7 separate regions of the Homo sapiens genome follow, and all the other regions are linked to region 4. Evidence: promoter capture Hi-C in 16 types of primary human blood cells and fetal thymus (Javierre and others, 2016). All regions are on one chromosome and are shown on one strand. The core of a region is centred on a gene start or on the middle of the fragment in contact, and the rest is flanking DNA. Distances in the headings are between cores, read along the strand shown.

Region 1 (2,700 bases), core at 9-2,508, 950 kb after region 4:
CAAACTTGGTCCCCAGTTCCACTATCCGAAGCCTGCTTTACATTATGTCGTACTTCATTGGTACCACATACAGTGATTACATTATAAAAGGCCTCTAGATCACTTTGTTCAAATTTAACAGATGGTTTCGGTAATGTTCCAGGAGCAAGGGAACTCTCTCCCATAATTTTCAGGTTGATAAATTTGATTTTCCAAGTATTCTCCACAAAAGGGCAGCGGATGAGTCCAAAAATTTGTTCAAAAATGCCCAAACAAGTGTTTCCTCGATGGACAGTCCCAGCAACTCCAACCATAACCAGCCCATGAGGAGAAGATGCACATTTCAGTCCATGTGAATCTAGGTTGGGGCTGAGAAAAAGAAATTCTTCTTTTACTAGTGACAGCAAACGAAGGCTCACGATTTCTGCTCCATGGTAGTCCATAACATTTTGTTCTGATGTGTTGTAATAAAACCTAAGCTTCACATCATGCCAGAAGTGCTGTGGTCCCCATTCATCTTGAGGTGGTCCTAGAAAAGGATTCTGAGAATTAAGAAGTCCAAAGAACCAATGACAGAATTCTTCTCCTAGGCGACGAAAATCAACTTTTTCAGCTTTTTTATCTTCTTTCACCTGCTGATTGAAACAAATAAAATAAATACAAAATAACACTAAGGTTTAACTTTCATATCTATTTTTCTATCTAGCCTATTAAGTTTGAATGAACCCATTACACCAGAGAGAAATGAACCATATGTGAACTTGCTGAACCCATTATGCATAGTAAAAATCTTTTTTCAAGAGGAGAAAAATCATTTTAGAAATTTCCAGCTTAAATTGCTGAAAATTCAGCTAAGAGAGTAAGGTTTAGTAAGGCCAATTTAAAAATCAGTATGAACTTGGCGGGCGTGGTGGCTCACGCCTGTAATCCCAGCACTTTGGGAGGAGGAGGCAGGCGGATGGTGAGGTCAGGAGTTTGAGACCAGCCTGGCCAATATAGTGAAACCCCGTCTCTACTAAAAATACAAAAATTAGCCGGGCATGGTGGCGTGTACCTGTATTCCCAGCTACTCAGGAGGCTGAGGCAGGAGAATCACTTGAACTTGGGAGGTGGAGGTTGCAGTGAGCCAAGATAGCATCACTGCACTCCAGCCCGCGCAACAGAGCGAGACTCCGTGTGAAAAAAAAAAAAAAATCAGTATGAACAGTCATATATAAAAATATATAAATTATATGATGATTTATGTAAGTGTTTCCTCAGATTGTGGCAGTGTTTTCACAGGTATATATGTATATCACAGGTATATATGTGAAAACCTTCAAAACGTTCACTTTAAATGGATGCATTTTGCATATAAATGACATAAAGTTAATATAAGCAAGCATTTTCATTGTCTTTAAATAGATACTCTTACGGTGATTGAAACAGGTTATTTTCTATAACTGGGATTAATTTTATTCTATTATTTCTCTTTTTTCACAGAAAATGTTACTGTAAGCTGGGCGTGGTGGTTCATGCCTGTAATCCCGGCACTTTGGGAGGCTGAGGCAGGCAGATCACTTGAGGTTAGGAGTTCAAGACCAGTCTTGACAACATGGTGAAACCCCGTCTCTACTAAAAACACAAAAATTAGCTGAGTGTAGTGGCGCATGCCTGTAATTCCAGCTACTTGGGAGGCTGAGGCAGGAGAAGTGCTTGAACCCAGAGGGTGGAGGCTGCAGTGAGCTGAGATCATGCCAACTGTACTCCAGCCTGGGTGACAGGGCAGACTTTGTCTCAAAAAAAAAAAAAAAAAGTTACTGTAAAAATCTACCTGATACACTAGATCTCATTCATCCATGTGTTCCACAACACAGTACTTTACTGAGATGTATGAGATCTTAGGTTTACTGAGCACCTGCTATTTAATACACTGGGCACTGTGCGTGGCACTGGTTATTTGCCTAATTTAACACACCTAGTATATTGCAGACCCTAATTTGAAGTCGTATTTGTATGATTTCAAAGTCAATGCTCTTATCAGTACATAAAGTAAGAAAGCTCTTAAAGATTCTTTCCTAGTGTGAAGGCAAAGCTTTCTCACTGTGAAACCTCATTAATTCAAAAAATGTGGTATGTAGTTTAAAAATCTGCAAATTACATAGAGGTTAATTCAAGCAACACTTAAATATTTGTGCAGTATCTAAAATGTACAGTGGAGATAATATAAAGAACAGAAACAGCCAATGTCCGCTGGAGAATATTTCTACAATAGGACTTTTTCTAGTTAAAAAAAAAAAAGTATAAAAAATATTTAGGTTCCAATGTGGGGGCGGGGGCATCAAGAAAAATAGCTAACGCATGCTGGGCTTCATACCTAGGTGATAGGTTGATAGGCGCAGCAAACCACCATGGCACATGTTTACCTATCTAACAAACCTGCACACGTACCCTGGAACTTAAAAGAAAATTTTTTTTAAAGTAAAATTTTAAGTTCCTTTCATGACATTTTTGCAATACCAAAAACGTCTTAAAAGTGAGAAAGAATTTGCAATAAAATTCTTCTAAAGTGAAAAAAAATTACACGGAGCTAAAGTTAAAATTAACCTTGCAGTTTACTCTCTAAAAATCCAATAGTCCTCATTTGATGATGCTGATATTGAAAAATACTTTCTCACATATCAATAGATGATTATATATGCATCACTATATGTCAGAAATATTTTTGCTCTTAGTTGCTTT
Region 2 (2,713 bases), core at 189-2,688, 900 kb before region 4:
ATCAGAATAAGAGAGGTTTTGAGAAGATAGTGAGGAAAGAAAAATGCCAGGTGTCACCCTATCTAAAAATAAGTGATAACTATTTACTTTGATTAACATTTCATGTGGCTGGCAATCAAACCCAAATAATTTAGATGTGGGAGAATGTGGGCTGTGTAAGATATACTTGACTTGACAAGTGTGGGAAGGGGATTTGGCAGAAAGATTCTAAAGATAGAGAACAGATAATTTTTTAAAAGAAAACTATTTTGCTTATGACATTGATTTAACTCATAAAAGTAGAAATTGTTTTTAATGCTAGCTGTCTCTTCATTTGGGACTATTTTAAATTCTTATGTGAATGATGATGATTTATGTTTAATTATCACATCGCTAACTTTTAAAAGCAGTTCTATAGTCTTAATTAATTATTTTGAGTAGGCAATCATATTCTAAGAAAACAACCAGAGGTCGGGTGCAGTGGCTCACGCCTGTAATCCCAGCATTCTGAGAGGCCAAGGTGGGTGGATCACCTGAGGTCAGGAGTTCGAGACCAGCCTGGCCAACATGGTGAAACCCCATCTCTACTAAAAATACAAAAAATTAGCCGAGTGTAGTGGCTTGCACCTGTAATCCCAGCTACTCAGGAGGCTGAGGTAGGAGAATCGCTTGAAACTGGGAGGCAGAGGTTGCAGTGATCCAAGATCGTGCCAGTGCACCCCAGCCTGGGCAACAGAGCAAGATTCGGTCTCCAAAAAAAAAAAAAAAAAAAAAAAGGGAAAGAAAACAATAAACTACAAGTAGCATAAGAATATCTTCCTTTTGGATGTCTTCAAAGATGGGACCTATGCACATAGTTGCCATAGTATGTGATTGAGATTAAATGAAATAAGCTATGTTTACTCTGTGGAACAAAAGAGGCCAGCTGGATTCCTGCAGAGCCAGTCCCTTGGTGCCAGAGAGAATCTTTACCAGGTCCAGTTAATCTCTTGCACCATCGATGAGACCTTAGAGGTAGCTGTGTAGATGTTGAATTGGAATTTTAGCTATTGTCATTCTAGAAAAGGGAATTAATCATTTACAGATAAGGTAAAAAGGAAAGAGAAATGTATTCTCTTACACAACATGGGTTTGAACTGTGTGGGTTCACTTTTATGCAGATTTTCTTCCACCTCTGCCATTGCTGAGACAGCAAGACCATCCCCTTCTCTTCCTCCTACTCCTTAACCTGCTCAGTGGGAAGACAATGAGGATGAAGACCTTTATGATGATCCACTCCCACTTAATGAATAATAAGTATATTTCTCTTCCTTGTGATTTTCTTAACTTTTTTTCGGCTTACAATATTGTAAGAATACAGTATATATTACATATAACAAACAAAATATATGTTTACCAACCACTTGTGTTATCATAAGGCTTCTCGTCAACAGTAGGCTATTAGCAGTTAAGATTTTGGGGAGTCAAAATTAATGTGGAGTTTTGACTGCACCAGAGGCTGGTTCCCCTAGCCCCTGCACTGTTCAAGGGTCAACTGTATTGAGAAAACAGTTTGAAGTCCAACTTGCCAGTTACACAATTGGCAGTCGGAAATACTATACAACACTTTCAAGATTCTGGAAGTCACAGTCTTTGGTAGCACATTTGTTTCACATGTATGCTCCAGCACCCAAATCGTAATTGTAAAGATGTCTATTGTTTTGCTGTATTTTCCCAGACAGTTATTATTTGTGTTCAACTGTGCACGAAGCAGGCCTCCTGATTGACTTAAGTTTCAGGGTGAAACAGAAAAGCAGGTGGGAGCAATGCCATGATTCTGCAAACTTTCAGAATATTGCAGCTTCCCCCCTTATCTCTGAGCAGGGAAATGCTTTCTGAAGTGAGCCGAACATTCACCAGACCTCTGTGTTACTTTGAAGTGCTTGCTTTTCCCAGCAGTTCTGACCGATCTTTAGGGGGAAGTGGAATTCTCTGAGCTGGGTGCCTCATGGACCATTGAGAGTGGCTGGTGTACAGCTGGTTTTAAGAAGGCAGAAACTTTCTCTTCTGAAGATTTAAATGCTTTGCAGGTCTGTAATGAAAGCAACACAGACCGTTGGCTGATTGCCTGACTTCTCTGCTTTCCTGAAAATTCAGCTCATGTGAGAGACAAGAGGGACACTAACTTACGTGGTGTGGACTTCCATCCGGAATATCACACTGGATGATGCCCTCATCATTGTCTTGAATATTTACTGCCCGTCAACTAGAAGAATAGGAACATTTAGTTATCACTTAGCTGTGGATGTTACCAATAAAAAAGCCACAAAATTGTCTGACTATTCTACATAAGGCCAAGGGAATATTTTCTCTAAATCCTTTCACAGTTTTAATTTTGAATAAAACAGAGTATGTATATTTTGTAATCAGCATTTTGTAAATTATATTTCTAAATGATGATAGGTACATCAAAATAGAATTTGGAGTCCAAAGTTCTAGTTATGTGTGAATGGTAGGGAAATTCTCTTCTAAAGTATGTATGGTCACTGCATTACAGAGCTCTTTATAATTAGCCCTTAATTATAAGAGAATTGACAGCAGTATTTCTCTAACTGGAATAGATAGTTTACTTGATTATGATGATTAGAGGACACTTTTGTCTATTGTTAGCTACAGGACTTTTGGCAAAAGTCTGATCATGCCATTCTTCTGCTCAGAACTCTCCAATAACTTCCCATATTACTCAGAGTTTAAG
Region 3 (3,000 bases), core at 227-2,726, 920 kb after region 4:
AGCGGATAGAAGCCTAAAACACCCAAGCCAGAAACGGCAAACCTTCCAGGTCTCCTTCCACCGCGTGGAAGCTTTACTTTCACTTTTGCTTTAATAAATCTTGCCCCCTCACACTCTTTGGGTCCGCGCGTTTCTCTAATGGAGCTGTAACACTCGCCACTGCGGTCACAACTTCATTCCTTGAAGCCCGTGAGACCCCGAATCCTTGGATCAAGAAAAACCTTTGATCGTGAGAAGACTTCTTGTCTCAAGATGACGATTGGATTTTACCTCTTTATCTAATACCAGTTGATTCGGAATGATGCCTGGAAAAATGTATTCAAGAATGTGTGACCTCCTTTGAGTTCAGTGGAAAAGAATGAGAACATTGATTACTGGTGTCCTTTATGGGTTGAAGGTGAAGGAGGGAGGAGGAGTTTTGGAATCAAGTCTTTGCCAACCTTACTGTAGACCACTAAACATTTACATTCTACAAACCTTTCCCTCTCCACTTCCACCACCTTGTCTAGCTATAAAAGCTTTCCTCATTCACATTTAATTTTTCACAGTTCCTCCAGAATACCCTCTTCCAGCAAAGTAATGGTTATATTTGGTGAGTAAAATAACTTTCTTTTAGATTTGCAACAGACAGAGTGGCATTCTAGAGCTTCATAGCCATCATCCATCATTGGTATACTATTAATGAAGAAGAACTGAGAGGCCAATCCAAAGAACATCAATTTGGAAAAGAGAAACCAGGATTTAGATAACAACAGGGAGAAAAAAAAATTGCGAATTCAGTGTCCCTCCTTGTGTCTGCGTCCAGTACTGTCCCTTGACTCCTCCTGAGTCATGAGTAAAATTCCCCTTGCTGCAGCCATCACCACAGCTGTGAACTCTGACGGCTGGCGTCTGCCCCAAGGCTTTCCCTCGAGTCCTCCCAGAGCCAGCCCCTCCTGGCAAAGATGATTCCTTTCATCCCAGTCATAGATGTCTCTTGTGGTGGATCTGTCAGTCAAAAGAGAACATGAGAAGCGTGATTCAGGAACAAAAGGAACTTCACAGAAAGATTTAGCCTGGTGCTTCTTAGATTCCTCTATTGCACTAAACATCTTTTTATTTACCAGATTCCAAATATACACAATTCCCAGGTAGTTTGCTTGACTGTATTAATGTTATGTGTATATATATATATATATATATATATATATATATATATATATATATGTATGTATGTATAAAAGCATCATGTTGCACATCTTCAGTATATACAATAAATAAATAAAAATAATAGATAAAATATAACTAATGTTGAATTTTCTACTCATCAGTATCTATTTACATATTTACATATAAGTTCCTTTTTCACGATTAGAAATTTTATTTGTACTCCTTCAATACGTGCTTTTATTCCAAGTGCCTCATATAATATTATCCCAGTGTGACACATTTTGTGCTCTTTTTTAATTATTATACTGTAAGTTCTAGGGTACATGTGCACAACGTGCAGGTTTGTTACATAGGTATACATGTGCCATGTTGGTTTGCTGCACCCATCAACTCATCATTTACATTAGTTATTTCTCCTAATGCTATCCCTCCCGCAGCCCTCCACCCACCCCCAAAAGGCCCCAGTGTGTGATGCTCCCCTCCCTGTGTCCATGTGTTCTCATTGTTCAACTCCCACCTATGAGTGAGAACATGCGGTGTTTGGTTTTCTGTCCTTGTGACAGTTTGCTGACAATGATGGTTTCCAGCTTCATCCATGTCCCTACAAAGGACATGAACTCATCATTTTTTATGGCTGCATAGTATTCCATGGTGTATATGTGCCACATTTTCTTAATCCAGTCTATCATTTATGGACATTTGGGTTGGTTCCAAGTCTTTGCTATTGTGAATAGTACTGCAATAAACATACACGTGCATGTGTCTTTATAGTAGCAGGATTTATAATCCTTTGGGTATATACCCAGTAATGGGATTGCTGGGTCAAATGGTATTTCTAGTTCTAGATGCTTGAAGAATCGCCACACTGTCTTCCACAATGGTTGAACTAATTTACACTCCCACCAACAGTGTAAAAGCATTCCTATTTCTCCACATCCTCTCCAGCACCTGTTGTTTCCTGACTTTTTAATGATTGCCATTCTAACTGGTGTGAGATGGTATCTCATTGTGGTTTTGATTTGCATTTCACTGATGACCAGTGACGATGAGCATTTTCTCATGTGTCTGAGGCCGGCATAAATGTCTTTTTTTGAGAAGTGGCTGTTCATATCCATTGCCCACTTTTTGATGGTGTTGTTTGTTTTTTTCTTGTAAATTTCTTTAAGTTCTTTGTAGATTTTGGATATTAGCCCTTTGTCAGATGGGTAGATGGCAAAAATTTTCTCCCATTCTGTAGGTTGCCTGTTCACTCTGATGGTAGTTTCTTTTGCTGTGCAGAAGCTTTTTAGTTTAATTACATCCCATTTGTCAGTTTTGGCTTTTGTTGCCATTGCTTTTGGTGTTTTAATCATGAAGTCTTTACCCATGCCTATGTCCTGAATGGTATTGCCTAGGTTTTCTTCTAGGGTTTTTATGGTTTTAGGTCTTACATTTAAGTCTTTAATCCATCTTGAGTTAATTTTTGTATAAGGTGTAAGGAAGAGATCCAGTTTCAGCTTTCTACATATAGCCAGTTTTCTCAGCACCATTTATTAAATAGGGAATCCTTTCCCCATTTCTTGTTTTTGTCAGGTTTGTCAAAGATCAGATGGTTGTAGATGTGTGGTGTTATTTCTGAGGCCTCTGTTCTGTTCCATTGGTCAATATCTCTGTTTTGGTATCAGTCCCATGCTGTTTTTGTTACTGTAGCCTTGTAGTATAGTTTGAAGTCAGGTAGCATGATGCCTCCAGCTTTGTTCTTTTTGCTTAGGATTGTCTTGGCAATGCAGACTCTTTTTTGGTTCCATATGAACTTTAAAGTAGTTTTTTCCAATTCTGTGAAGAAAGTCATTGGTAGCTTGATGGGGATGG
Region 4 (2,758 bases), core at 100-2,599:
ATATTTTCTAAGGAGTGATGTATATAACATGATGTTTGCACATCAGTTGCTCGGTATTGTTAACTTGCAAAATAAATTGCTAAATGTTACTGTTATAAGTTCAAAATCACTAAGAGGAAATTAATGTTGTAAGTGTGGCTTTACACTAATCAATTATTTAGAGAAGTTTGTTTTACGAGTTAGTGACTGTATTCACAAGAATAGATCACAAAAGGAATACAGGAGAAAGAAAATGTATGTATTAAGTACACAATCTTATAGAACACATTGGTGTCCTTAACATTAGGTTTGCACTTTAACCCACTGAAAAGGAATTAATGCTCATTACAAGGATAATAAATAACACAACATCAAGGAAATGCCATTTGCTGCATATGAACATTCTCTCTTAATCTACTATTCAGTTATTTACTATATCTTCCCAGGAGCTATCCACTATTCATTAAATACATTCTCCTATTTGTATATAAGCCTTTAAACAAAGAGAATCCAACCTAAGCTTATTGTAATTCTTGCAAATATTACTTACGTTAATGTGGCATATGCTGCTCTTTAGAACCTGTACCATAGAGCAAACCATTGCCTGGCGGGATACACACAACTTCAACACAGCCCTTGCACCATAAACACGCACCTCCGCTTCGACAAACTCTGATTTCCCTTTAGTCCATTCATAAATGCCATGATCCCAAGTAGGAACAACCTGTCATTACCTTTAAACATACTAAAGAGTCTAGAGAGGAAGGCTGAATTTTCTTTCAAACTTCTCGGAGTACCACATGGTCATAATTAGAAAATAAAATACTGCCTTGGCTATTTGGCAATTAACATAACTGGGTTGCAACGCTGGAGGATTTTCTTTCTTTCTTTCTGCTCAAATTGGCAAACAAGGTAATTGCTCGAAATGGTGTCAGATTAAAAACACATTTTCAAAGTTTAGACCATCTAAAATTATCTCCTGAAGTGTTTTAGAAGACAGTTGGAAAAAAAAAAGGCACATCTTTCCTTCACTCTCAGAGCAAACTGCTCTATTCGGAGGCACCTTCCCGACGTGCAAGGCTTCGGTGAGAACGTGCTTTGAAGAGCGTGAGCCCCGCGGGGCAGAGCTCCGTGCGTCGCGGTACCTGGCTTACCTTCATTGGAAGGCTGCGGAATCAGTTCCCCGAAGCTGTCGAGAACAGAGCAGCTGAGAAGGAGGAGGATGGAGAGCTGACAATCCATGTTGCTGGTGCAGAGGGCAGTGAGAGGAGCATATCTCCATGAAGCATGCCACTGATGTGAGGGGGAGCGCTCTGATTGCTGGAGAAGTTACCATGCTCCGCTCGCAGGCTGATGTCAAGTTTGACACTGGAGATAAGGAGGAGTCTGGCTGCCTTTCCGCGAACCCCGCTCGGGGACTTCCCTGGGTCCTAGTGCCGTCTTCAGCGTGCGCTGAAGCAGAGCGGGATGGCACGCAGCTGGCTCTGCAGCCCAGAGCTGCTCGGGAAGGAGACCGGGTGGGAGTGGGGGCGTCGCCCATGGGACAGGAAACACAGAAGATGTGATGAGGCCGCGGTGCTGAGAAAAATGCTCCCTCTTTTGTGTTGCATGAAAAGTAGCTGTTTTATTGTTTGCTATCCATGCTCTGTTGCTTAATTCACCGAAGAAATCACAGCCTTGATAGGAGTATCATATGGCAATGTGAGTGCAAAAGGAACTGAAATGCGAGAGAAACGTGTGTTTTGAAAGAATAGCAGTCTTTCGTTAAAAAGTCAATCATGTTTGTATAATTGAAAAAAATGATTATAGTTATTCCTTTACTGTGTTCAATGTGATCATAACTCTCCATGAGTTCTTTGTGATTCAGAAAGACACTAATACACAGCCTGAATCAGAGGGTCTCTGCATTTCCACACCCAATGGTATCGTGGCTTTTTACTAGATCTGGCACAGTGATTTTCCGCGCACATAGAGCATACTTTGTTTTTTTTCAAACAGGGAAGTTGACCTTCATCATCTTACGGAAGGGAGCAAGTCTAACCCCAGCCGGAGGTCTACATTCTTTTCTCGTTCTGTGTTGTAAAAGTAATACAGATCAAACCTAAATTTCTTAATAATACATATCCCCCTCCCTCACCATCTCACATTAGGATCTCTGGGTTCTGCAAGAGAAACAATGCATAATTCACAGCTCCTCCATTCAACTTTCAACCACTGATAGTCTAATAATATTGGGGTATTCTTATTCTTTAACATTCCAAATCCAAAAGCTAAATAATAATGTCCTCGTACTTTCTCACTTATTTTACACCATGACTATCAATGGTCTCTGTTATTTCCAATCCCATTGCTGAACAACCTATTGCAATCTAGTTCAGCCAAACAATTTTGTAATTTATATTTTAATAACCAGCATCACTTATCTTTAAAATATCTCCCAGAAAATGGTTACTCAGATATCCTTCCGCCCATCTATCTCTTCTTATACTAAAAAGAAAACAAGATTATTATATTCCTCTCACAACTTCAGAAAATAAAGGTATGTTGATAATCTTAAGATCAGTGATCAATTTTAGAGCTCTTGATAATGAAACTTAAATGAAAGTTTGAAAAGCCCTTGCTAATAATGTATTCAGTCCACAAACTCAATGTTTTTAGTTAGAGAACACAATTTTCACTTGAATTTAAGTTAATGGTGCCAGATAATAGTTTGATGACTGGGGTGGGGAATTGGGGTGGATAGAAGCAGCCAGGGGAAAAGAGAGATCCTTCTCACTTT
Region 5 (2,930 bases), core at 21-2,520, 970 kb before region 4:
CATATATATATCCATGTAGCCATATATATGTATGCACCAAATTTGTAAAATTATTGAGCTATACATTTACATATGTATTTTACACCTTAATACAAATTTAAAAATTTGAGTCAGTGGAAATTACTGGAGGAACTGGGAAAGCAGTCTTTTCATTCCTCTTGTATTTTGTGTTTTTGTGCATATGTGCCATAATAAAATCACTGAGCTTTAGTTGAAAAGAACTGGATTTAAAACATAGCTAAGTTTACTAGCAGTGAGAGTTTATGAAAATAATTTAGCCTCTTGAAGCTTCATTTTTGTCACCTGTAAAATAGAGATAATAATAATTATTTTATGGGATTGTTGTGAGAACTAAATAAGAAGTGGCTTTAAGCTGGTTACAGTGGGTCATGCCTGTAACCCCAGCACTATGAGAGGCTGAGGTGGGCAAATTGCTTGAGCTCAGGAGTTCCAGAGAAGACTGGGCAATGTGGGGAAACCCCATCTCTACAAACAAACAAACAAACAAACAAACAAACAAAAATTAGCCAGGCATGGTGGTGCATGCCTGTAATCCTAGCTACTTGGGAGACTGAGCTGGGAGGATCATTAGAGCCTGAAAGGGTGAGGCTGCCATGAGCCAAGATCATGCCACTGCACTCCAGTCTGGGTGACAGAGCAAAAATAAAAAATAAAAAAGAGTGAGGGAGGCTTTAGTTCACGTCCTCTAGAAAGTAGACTAAGCCTAGGGTGTAGGCCTAGGATGCCAAGGGTGAAACTTCTCCAGAATGTTTGCCAAGGATAATTTATACTAGTTTTCTCAATAAATTTGTTTTCTTGTTTCCTGTTATCCTCCTAAGATGAATAATTTTTTCCCCTTTCCCCTCTCTCTTTCTATTACACTTTCCCTTTCTTCCTTTCTTCCATTTGTTTTTTTCAGTATCATTAATTATAGGGGCTCAGAGGATGATAGAATTATTCAGTTGTTTCATCCACCACTTTATATTTTAACTGCTTAGAATAACAATACTAACACCACCAATATACTGACTGAAAACAGTTAAATATTTTTGTTGTATTCATGGTCCTCATTTTCTATTTCTAATAGTCATACTATGTCTACATTGTCAGAGCATGTAGCTGTTATGTATTATACTTCATCTCTTTTAACCACTAGCTACTCTTAAGTCTACATGTGAGTGTATAATGTTCACCACCAGTCAGTGTCTCTAATTATTTTCGTTGACTGAAGCTGTTCATTAGTAGATTCCTCAGAAGGAGCTCAAAGAAACATTGTTCCTTAAATTTCTGCATTTTGAGAATTTCACTCACGTCCATGTAAAGATACCACCAAACAGGCTTTGTGTGAGCAACAAGGCTGTTTATTTCACCTGGGCGCAGGTGGGCTGAGTCCGAAAAGAGAGTCAGCCCGCCTGCACCCAGGTGAAATAAACAGCCTTGTTGCTCACACAAAGCCTGTTTGGTGGTCTCTTTACAGGGGCACGGGTGAAATTTGGTGCCGTGACTCGGATAGGGGGACCTCCCTTGGGAGATCAATCCCCTATCCTCCTGCATTTTGCTCCATGAGAAAGATCCAACTACCACCTCAGGTCCTCAGACCCACCAGCCCAAGGAACATCTCACCAATTTTAAATCAGGTAAGCGGCCTCTTCTTACTCTCTTCTGCAACCTCTCTCACTATCCCTCAACCACTTTCTCCTTTCAATCTTGGCGCCACACTTCAATCTCTCCCTTCTCTTAATTTCAATTCCTTTCATTTTCTAGTAGAGACAAAGGAGACACGTTTTATCCGTGGACCCAAAACTCCGGCGCTGGTCATGGACTCAGGAAGGCAGCCTTCCTTTGGTGTTTAATCATTGCAGGGACACCTCTCTGATTATTCACCCACATTTCAGAGGTGTCTGACCACGCAGGGACGCCTGCCTTGGTCTTTCACCCTTAGGGGCACGTCCTGCTTTTCTGGGGGAGGAGCAAGAACCCCAACACCTTCTCTCCCTGTCTCTACCCCTTCTCTGCTTTTCTGGGGGGCAAGAATCCCCCGATCCCTTATTTCCACACCCCAACCTCTTATCTCTGTGCCCCGATCCCTTATTTCTGTGCCCCAACCTCTTATCTCTGCGCCCTACCCCCTTATTTCCATGCCCAGACCCCTTCTCTGCTTTTCTGGGGGGCAAGAACCCCCCACCCCTTCTCTCCTTGTCTTTACTCTCTCTTTTCTCTGGGCTTGCCTCCTTCACTATGGGCAAGCTTCCGCCCTCCATTCCCCCTTCTTCTCCCTTAGCCTGCGTTCTTAAAAACCTAAAATCTCTTCAACTCATACCTGACCTAAAACCTAAATGCCTATGTTCTTCTGCAATGCCACTTGACCACAATACAAACTCGACAGTGGTTCCAAATAGCCAGAAAATGGCACTTTCAATTCTTCCATCCTACAAGATCTAAATAATTCTTGTCGTAAAATGGGCAAGTGGTCTGAGGTGCCTGACCTCCAGGCATTCTTTTACACATCAGTCCCTCCCTACTTTCTGTTCCCAATGCGATTCATCCCAAATCTTCCTTCTTTCCCTCCTGCCTGTCCCCTCAGTCCCAACCCCAAGCATCACTGAGTCTTTCTAATCTTCCTTCTCTACAGACCCATCTGACCTCTCCCCTCCTCGCCAGGCCAAGCTAGGTCCCAATTCTTCCTCAACCTCCGTTCCTCCACCTGGTACCACTTACAGTTTTGTTCCATGACTAGCCCTCCCCCACTTGCCCAGCAATTTCCTCTTAAAAAGGTGGCTGAAGCTAAAGGCATAGTCAAGGTTAATGCTCCTTTTTCTTTATCCAAATCAGATAGCGTTCACTCGCGTCCATGTGAAGAGACCACCAAGCAGGCTTTGTGTGAGCAACAGGGCTGTTTATTTCACCTGGGTGCAGGCAGGCTGAGTCCA
Region 6 (2,936 bases), core at 376-2,875, 940 kb after region 4:
AGACTGGCCTGCAGAGAAGAACAATCACAGAGCTCTTCAAGGATGCTGGCACTCCCCTCACAAGTCTATTTCTCAGTGTATTGGTAAGGTATGTTTTCCAGACCCTCCCAGTGTGGGTAAGTAGGTCTTAGGTGACCAATCCACTCTAGCATTCCAATCTCCCTAAGACTTTGAATTCCCTCCTCCACATTAAGCCAAGGGAGATCAGGCATCTTCAACTTGCTCATGGTGAGCCACCTTTTGATTAATATTTCAGCCAATCAACCAACCAGTTTGTATGCTTTCTAACTCTCTAAGCTGCAACATTAAATTCAGAATTACTATTTAGTGGGCCCATATTAATAAATTTGGCCTTATCAAACTTTATGTTCCTTCCACCATTATCCCATACACTTAATATTCATTCCCACACATGTTCCCTGGATTTCTGCTTGTGCGAACTAGAAAATTCAAATAGTCCTTTTGGAGTGTAGCATACCTCCTCATTGGTCAGACTTTGTACCTCACCTTTAGGAGCCTGCTGGGATTTGAGTCTAGTTATAAGCCTAAAAGCAAAAAGGTGATAGAAGTGGGTATGGGGAGAATCAGCATTGTCTTTCTCGGCAAATGCCTCAGGGGGCCATTATTATTTCCTTAGACAATGCAGGGTTAAGTGTAGAAAGGCCACTACCACTGTGGGTAAGAATGCCACTGCTTCTGGGGGTGGGAAGGCAACTTCTGCTCACAAAAAAGACTCACCAAAATTTAAGTGCTCAATGTCCCCAGCTTCATCATGTCTCCCCACATGTCTTCAAGTCAACTTACAGGATCCCATTCTTTCCCAATCAATGCCCTCACTTTAACAGTAGATGCCCTATGAGGCTAGGGATTCAACTTTCATTTAATTCAGCCAATCGCATGATGAGGACTTGTGTTTGATTTTTAGCAATTTTAGCCCTATGGCTCCAGTAGAGAAAATTTCCACAGGGTACATCTAGAAGCTCTGAGGTCATGTATGCATTGCTTGAGCTGGGAATTTGAATCCCTTAACTCATTCTTTTCTTTCATTACTTTGTGCAGTAACATTAGGAACAACCAATAAATATCATTATATTCCTTAGCACTATGGTAAATATTTGTCTCCTCCGAACCTCATGTTGAAGTTTGACCCCCAATGTTGGAAGTGGATCCCAATGGGAGGTGTTTGGGTCCTTGGGGTGGATCCCCCATGAATAGATTAATGTCCTCCCTGTGGGTGGAAAAGGGTAAGTGAGTTCTCACTCTATTCGTTCCCAAGAAATAGCTGTGGTTAAAAAAAAGCCCAGCACTGCCCCCCTTTCTCTTTTGTCATATGAGGTACAGATGCTGGCTCCTCTTCACCTTCTGCCTTGAGTGGAAGCAACCTGAAGCCCTTAGATGCAGATGCTCAAAGTTGAACTTTCTAGCTCTCCAGAACTGCAAGCCAAATAAATCCTTTTTCTTTATAAATTACCCAGCCTCCGGTATTCCTTTATAGTAACACAACACAGACTAATACACTCAGTTTTTCATAAACATTCAAAAGTATTATATACAGAGTCATTGATTTCCTGCCTCTTATAAGTGGTTGATTAGGAGTATCTAATGCAGATATTTTGATATCTGTATAACAGTTCATGCCATGGACAACCAGTGCTCTCTGTACTATTGGAAACAGAGTCCTTAGCATTTTTAAATATAATCACACTAGAGAGCCAATTCCAGAAGTCCCAAAACCAATTTAGGAAGCTCATCCTTACAGTTCTGTTCCTCTAGAATCACTCCTGGTATTAGGATTCTTCAGAGAAACAGGACCACCAATAGGATAGATAAATGATAGATAAATATGGCAGAGGATTTGTTAGAGGAATTAGCTTACATGATTATGGAGGCTGAGAAGTCCCAACCTGGAGAATGAGGGAAGTTGGTAGCATGGCTTGGTTCAAATCCAAAAAGCCTGAGAACCAAGGGGCACTAGTGCACATCCTGATGCCAAAAGGCTGGAGAACTTGGAGTTCTGATGTCCAAGAGCAAGAGAAGCTGGGTGTCTCAACTCCAGATGAGACAAAGTGAGCAAATTGCCTTTCTTCTGCCTTTTTGATCTATCCAGGCCCTCAGACAATTGGATGGTGCCTGCCCACATTACATCAGGGTAGATCTTCCATACTCAGTCCACTGATTCAAATGCCAGTCTCTTCTGGAAACACCCTTACAAACATACCGAGAAATAATGCTTCACCAGCTATCTGGGTATCCCTGAATCCAGTCAAGTTGACTCCTAAAATTAAGCATCACAGGAATATAGGACAGAGTCTAGCAGGGGTCCAATGTGGAGCTTCCAGTCCCTCTCCCATGGAGTCATAGATGGCTTTATCTCTTTCCAGTCACAATGTGGGACAATACTTATCCCAGCCTTTGGTGTTCAGAGTTTTTATTAGGGCTTGATCACCTATTTATTGTTTGTGTGGCTGAACTTTAGTCTACAGTTCCTCCCAGAAGTTGGGCTAATAGCTTTGAACTCAAGTTCCTCTGGAGGTAGGTAAAAATTGATATGGCACAGCCCAAAACCTATCATAAATCACATTGTTAGACTGTCCCACAGCCAAAGCCCTGAGGAGTGACACTCTTATGTTGCAGAACATTACAAGAGCCTAGAGCTAGGGGCAAAGGTCAGACCTCTCATTGGGTAAGGTTGATTATACACTAACAACTGCCTTCATTATTTGTTTATACCTGTATCTGTTCTGACCAGATAATATATGCACATAGCACAAAATTCAAAATATATATGTGTGTGTGTATGCGTGTGTACATGTGTATATATATACGTACATTCTCACATCTGCAAATAGTAATTTTTTTTTTTTTTTTGAGACTGAGTCTCGCCCAGTCACCCAGGCTGGAGTTCACTGGCGCGATCTCAGCTCATTGCAACCTCC
Region 7 (2,700 bases), core at 193-2,692, 870 kb after region 4:
TAAACTTCTCCATTATGATGTCTCCCATAGGTGGGTGGTATCCCATATGGCCCAGAGTTTACACAAACACAGTTCAAGGTGCTTTGAGTTACCAGAATCCAGTCTTCTTACATGCTTTGAGTTATTAGAATCTAGTCTTGGTTTCCACCCATAACCCCCTTTGGAATGGGTGATAAACATTGCTCAGGTTGCCCCCCAGCTATGGAAGGGCTTTCCAAACACATGGTAAAGTGCGTCAGTTTCCACCAAGAGGAATGATATTACATTCCAAGTGCAAGATTCTAACAAAAGGAACAATTTGGTAAAATGAAGTTGTAACTCTAGCCCTGAAAAGCAATAGTCATGATCAGGAATAATAGGATTAGGGGAACTATTCTTTAAAAGATATTAAAAAATCAGTGAAAGGTATTTTAATTCTAAATGACTGCTGAGTCTTAAAGTTCTCACTTACCCACTCAACTACCTATTTCATACTTACTAGGTTCTTGGGTGTTTTGCCTCTACCTCTCCCATTTCTGGCCTTGTTCTCAAGTGGTTAAACCTCTCAGCTGGATTTAAAGGAATTTTTATTTAACTAATTCTTAAAGTTATGAATTCCTGAGCTGCTTTAGGTAACAATGTCACATCAAATTGTTGCCCCAGATTTTCTTAACAAGAATGTATATGGAAATTTAGTTTTATGTTATTTTTTTAATTCATAGTTCTTTCCAAATCCGATAAATAAAGCAAATTCCATCACTTAGTGTTTTAACAAATTAAAGTAATTCTAGAATTTCTAATGTGCATTTTATGGGATGACATCATGACACACATTTGTTATGACTAAATACACTAAGAGAGCTGGTCCATTTATTGGCTAAAAGTCACCTGAGTCTCATCTGTTTTTCTATAATGTGAATTCTCTTTCATGGACGATTATAATAGGACAAATAGCACCATTAATTTAATTCTAAGCAAAAGTCCACATATTTACTCTAGTTGAACCAGTGTAGCTCCCATGCTCACAACTGAACCAGAGAGACAAAATGTGGTGGTTAGTTTAACAACAGCTTCACCAAATGTCATAGTTTTCCAAACCCGTGTTGAGAAAAAGGAAGTAACAACTAGATGCCAGGAAGGCAATCAAATAATGTCTGCTACCCAAACATTTCCTAAATATAGACTATAAGCATCTTGAGAGTAGGTACCTGTCTTATTCACTATCATATTTTCAGATCATAAAGCAGAGCACGTAACACTGCAGGCGTGTCATAATGTTTTACATTATGTAAGTATGTAAGTGTGTATGGATGAGTAGATGGATAATGAAATGATGGGGTTAATCATTTCCATGTCTGGCCAAAATGCTTTTCAGAAACCTGAGAATTAAAAGACTTGATAAATTATGTTTTGTTTTCATAATTAAGTGTTATGAAATGCTAATAAATTGCTAGTAAACAATAATCAAAATGATGTATTTTCCACAAGTAAATTTAGGCATAACTAAAGTTATACTTAATGTCCCAGCTCAATGGCTTATATAGGTTAACATTATCTGAGGTCAGAGTGCATGCTCCCATTTACACCTTACCTCATTGATGGATTATCAGTCAAATTGATTATCATTCAAATGCTTCACTAAACAAGAGACATGAACCATACCTTAAAAAATGTTGTGGTGCATTAAGCAGTTTCCTATGTGAGTACTATCAACAGAAAATATCCTGCCTTTGTGAAAATGTACGGGTCCTATCTGAGGAAGATTGATGATGTATTCTGTTTGGTTTCAACTGTTAAAGATTATGCAATATAGAAGTAGGCAATTTAGTTTTCATTAGAGAGCAAACTTCAGTTAGATAACTAGGTAATTGACAAAACAGACTTCTTTGGGCCCCATTCAAGACCCCAATTGTCCTCCCATAATTTTAGAACACTGGATAAGCAGACGAAACACACCTTTGTCATATGATGCTATTTTCTCCTTAAATTCTCACTAAAACTGAGACCCTTGTGAATGGTGTGCTAACCTTCACAGCCACAGCATTAGATAAGTAGATAACTGGTATAGAAACAAGATGTCAAGCTATTAGTTTTAATATATTAGTTAAGATTTCAGGACCTTGCCTGGATAGCAACAGCTGTAGAATTTAACCCAATGTAAAACAGACATAGTAAGCATTCCTTCTAATCTCACTGTATTAGACATAAGCTGATAGGACATTTGTTTTCTAGAGAAACCATACACATTAAAAAGTATATTTCCAAATATTAAAATATTTTCTTTTTAGCTTTATCTTTGATATTCCATTGAAACAGAAGATTTAAGATTAGGATGAATAAACTATATGGTTAGTTCTGAGCTCTAATATTAAGAGTAGGTTTAAGATCTAGTTCCCACCTGAGGCACTGGTTTGGAAAATTTCTCTGTGTACAGCAAATGGAATAAACACTGCGATGTGAATGTGGGGATTTTACATCCATTTTTAACTATTTTGGTGCTCTCACAGGTTCAGAATGTGGATTTATTTCACATAATCAACATTTGTAGAAATTGTGTGACCCTGAGAGCCTTAAGGTAGACAAAGAGGTTACAGAAGAGATTTACAAGACCCCAAAGATCCTCTTTAGGTGAGAAAATTCTTCTTAGGCCTCACGGCAATAGGGTTTAAATAGGTAGCTGACAAAATAATTTACAACAGTCCTGAAATTATTCTATCTTCC

The links. Contacts are between HindIII fragments. The CHiCAGO score rates a contact against its expected background, and 5 or more counts as called.
Region 1: a fragment that was not itself captured here is called in contact with the fragment with the promoter of EPHA3 in region 4 in 2 of 17 cell types (total B cells and naive B cells); the score reaches 7.2 in total B cells.
Region 2: a contact is called between a fragment that was not itself captured here and the fragment with the promoter of EPHA3 in region 4, in 1 of 17 cell types (M2 macrophages). The highest score is 5.1, in M2 macrophages.
Region 3: a contact is called between a fragment that was not itself captured here and the fragment with the promoter of EPHA3 in region 4, in 1 of 17 cell types (naive B cells). The highest score is 9.4, in naive B cells.
Region 5: a contact is called between a fragment that was not itself captured here and the fragment with the promoter of EPHA3 in region 4, in 1 of 17 cell types (M0 macrophages). The highest score is 5.1, in M0 macrophages.
Region 6: a fragment that was not itself captured here is called in contact with the fragment with the promoter of EPHA3 in region 4 in 2 of 17 cell types (total B cells and erythroblasts); the score reaches 6.1 in total B cells.
Region 7: a fragment that was not itself captured here is called in contact with the fragment with the promoter of EPHA3 in region 4 in 1 of 17 cell types (naive B cells); the score reaches 6.8 in naive B cells.

The regions. Positions count from the first base shown.
Region 1 is chr3:88,153,935-88,156,634 of GRCh38, reverse strand. It overlaps C3orf38 (chromosome 3 open reading frame 38), which reads right to left. Exons shown (of 3, transcript NM_173824.4): 3 at 1-614. Among named protein-coding and RNA genes, the nearest start is that of C3orf38, 5.3 kb to the right of the region's middle. The HindIII fragment of the contact is 1,595 bases long and covers 461-2,055 here.
Region 2 is chr3:90,010,609-90,013,321 of GRCh38, reverse strand. No RefSeq gene overlaps it. Among named protein-coding and RNA genes, the nearest start is that of EPHA3, 900 kb to the right of the region's middle. The HindIII fragment of the contact is 8,521 bases long and covers 1-2,713 here.
Region 3 is chr3:88,186,534-88,189,533 of GRCh38, reverse strand. No RefSeq gene overlaps it. Among named protein-coding and RNA genes, the nearest start is that of C3orf38, 38 kb to the right of the region's middle. The HindIII fragment of the contact is 1,912 bases long and covers 521-2,432 here.
Region 4 is chr3:89,106,212-89,108,969 of GRCh38, reverse strand. It overlaps EPHA3 (EPH receptor A3), which reads right to left and starts at 1,349. Exons shown (of 17, transcript NM_005233.6): 1 at 1,134-1,349. The coding sequence starts at 1,221. RefSeq lists an enhancer at 1,368-1,507. The HindIII fragment of the contact is 3,372 bases long and covers 502-2,758 here.
Region 5 is chr3:90,071,452-90,074,381 of GRCh38, reverse strand. No RefSeq gene overlaps it. Among named protein-coding and RNA genes, the nearest start is that of EPHA3, 970 kb to the right of the region's middle. The HindIII fragment of the contact is 1,959 bases long and covers 291-2,249 here.
Region 6 is chr3:88,170,585-88,173,520 of GRCh38, reverse strand. No RefSeq gene overlaps it. Among named protein-coding and RNA genes, the nearest start is that of C3orf38, 22 kb to the right of the region's middle. The HindIII fragment of the contact is 5,278 bases long and covers 1-2,936 here.
Region 7 is chr3:88,240,687-88,243,386 of GRCh38, reverse strand. No RefSeq gene overlaps it. Among named protein-coding and RNA genes, the nearest start is that of C3orf38, 92 kb to the right of the region's middle. The HindIII fragment of the contact is 4,837 bases long and covers 1-2,700 here.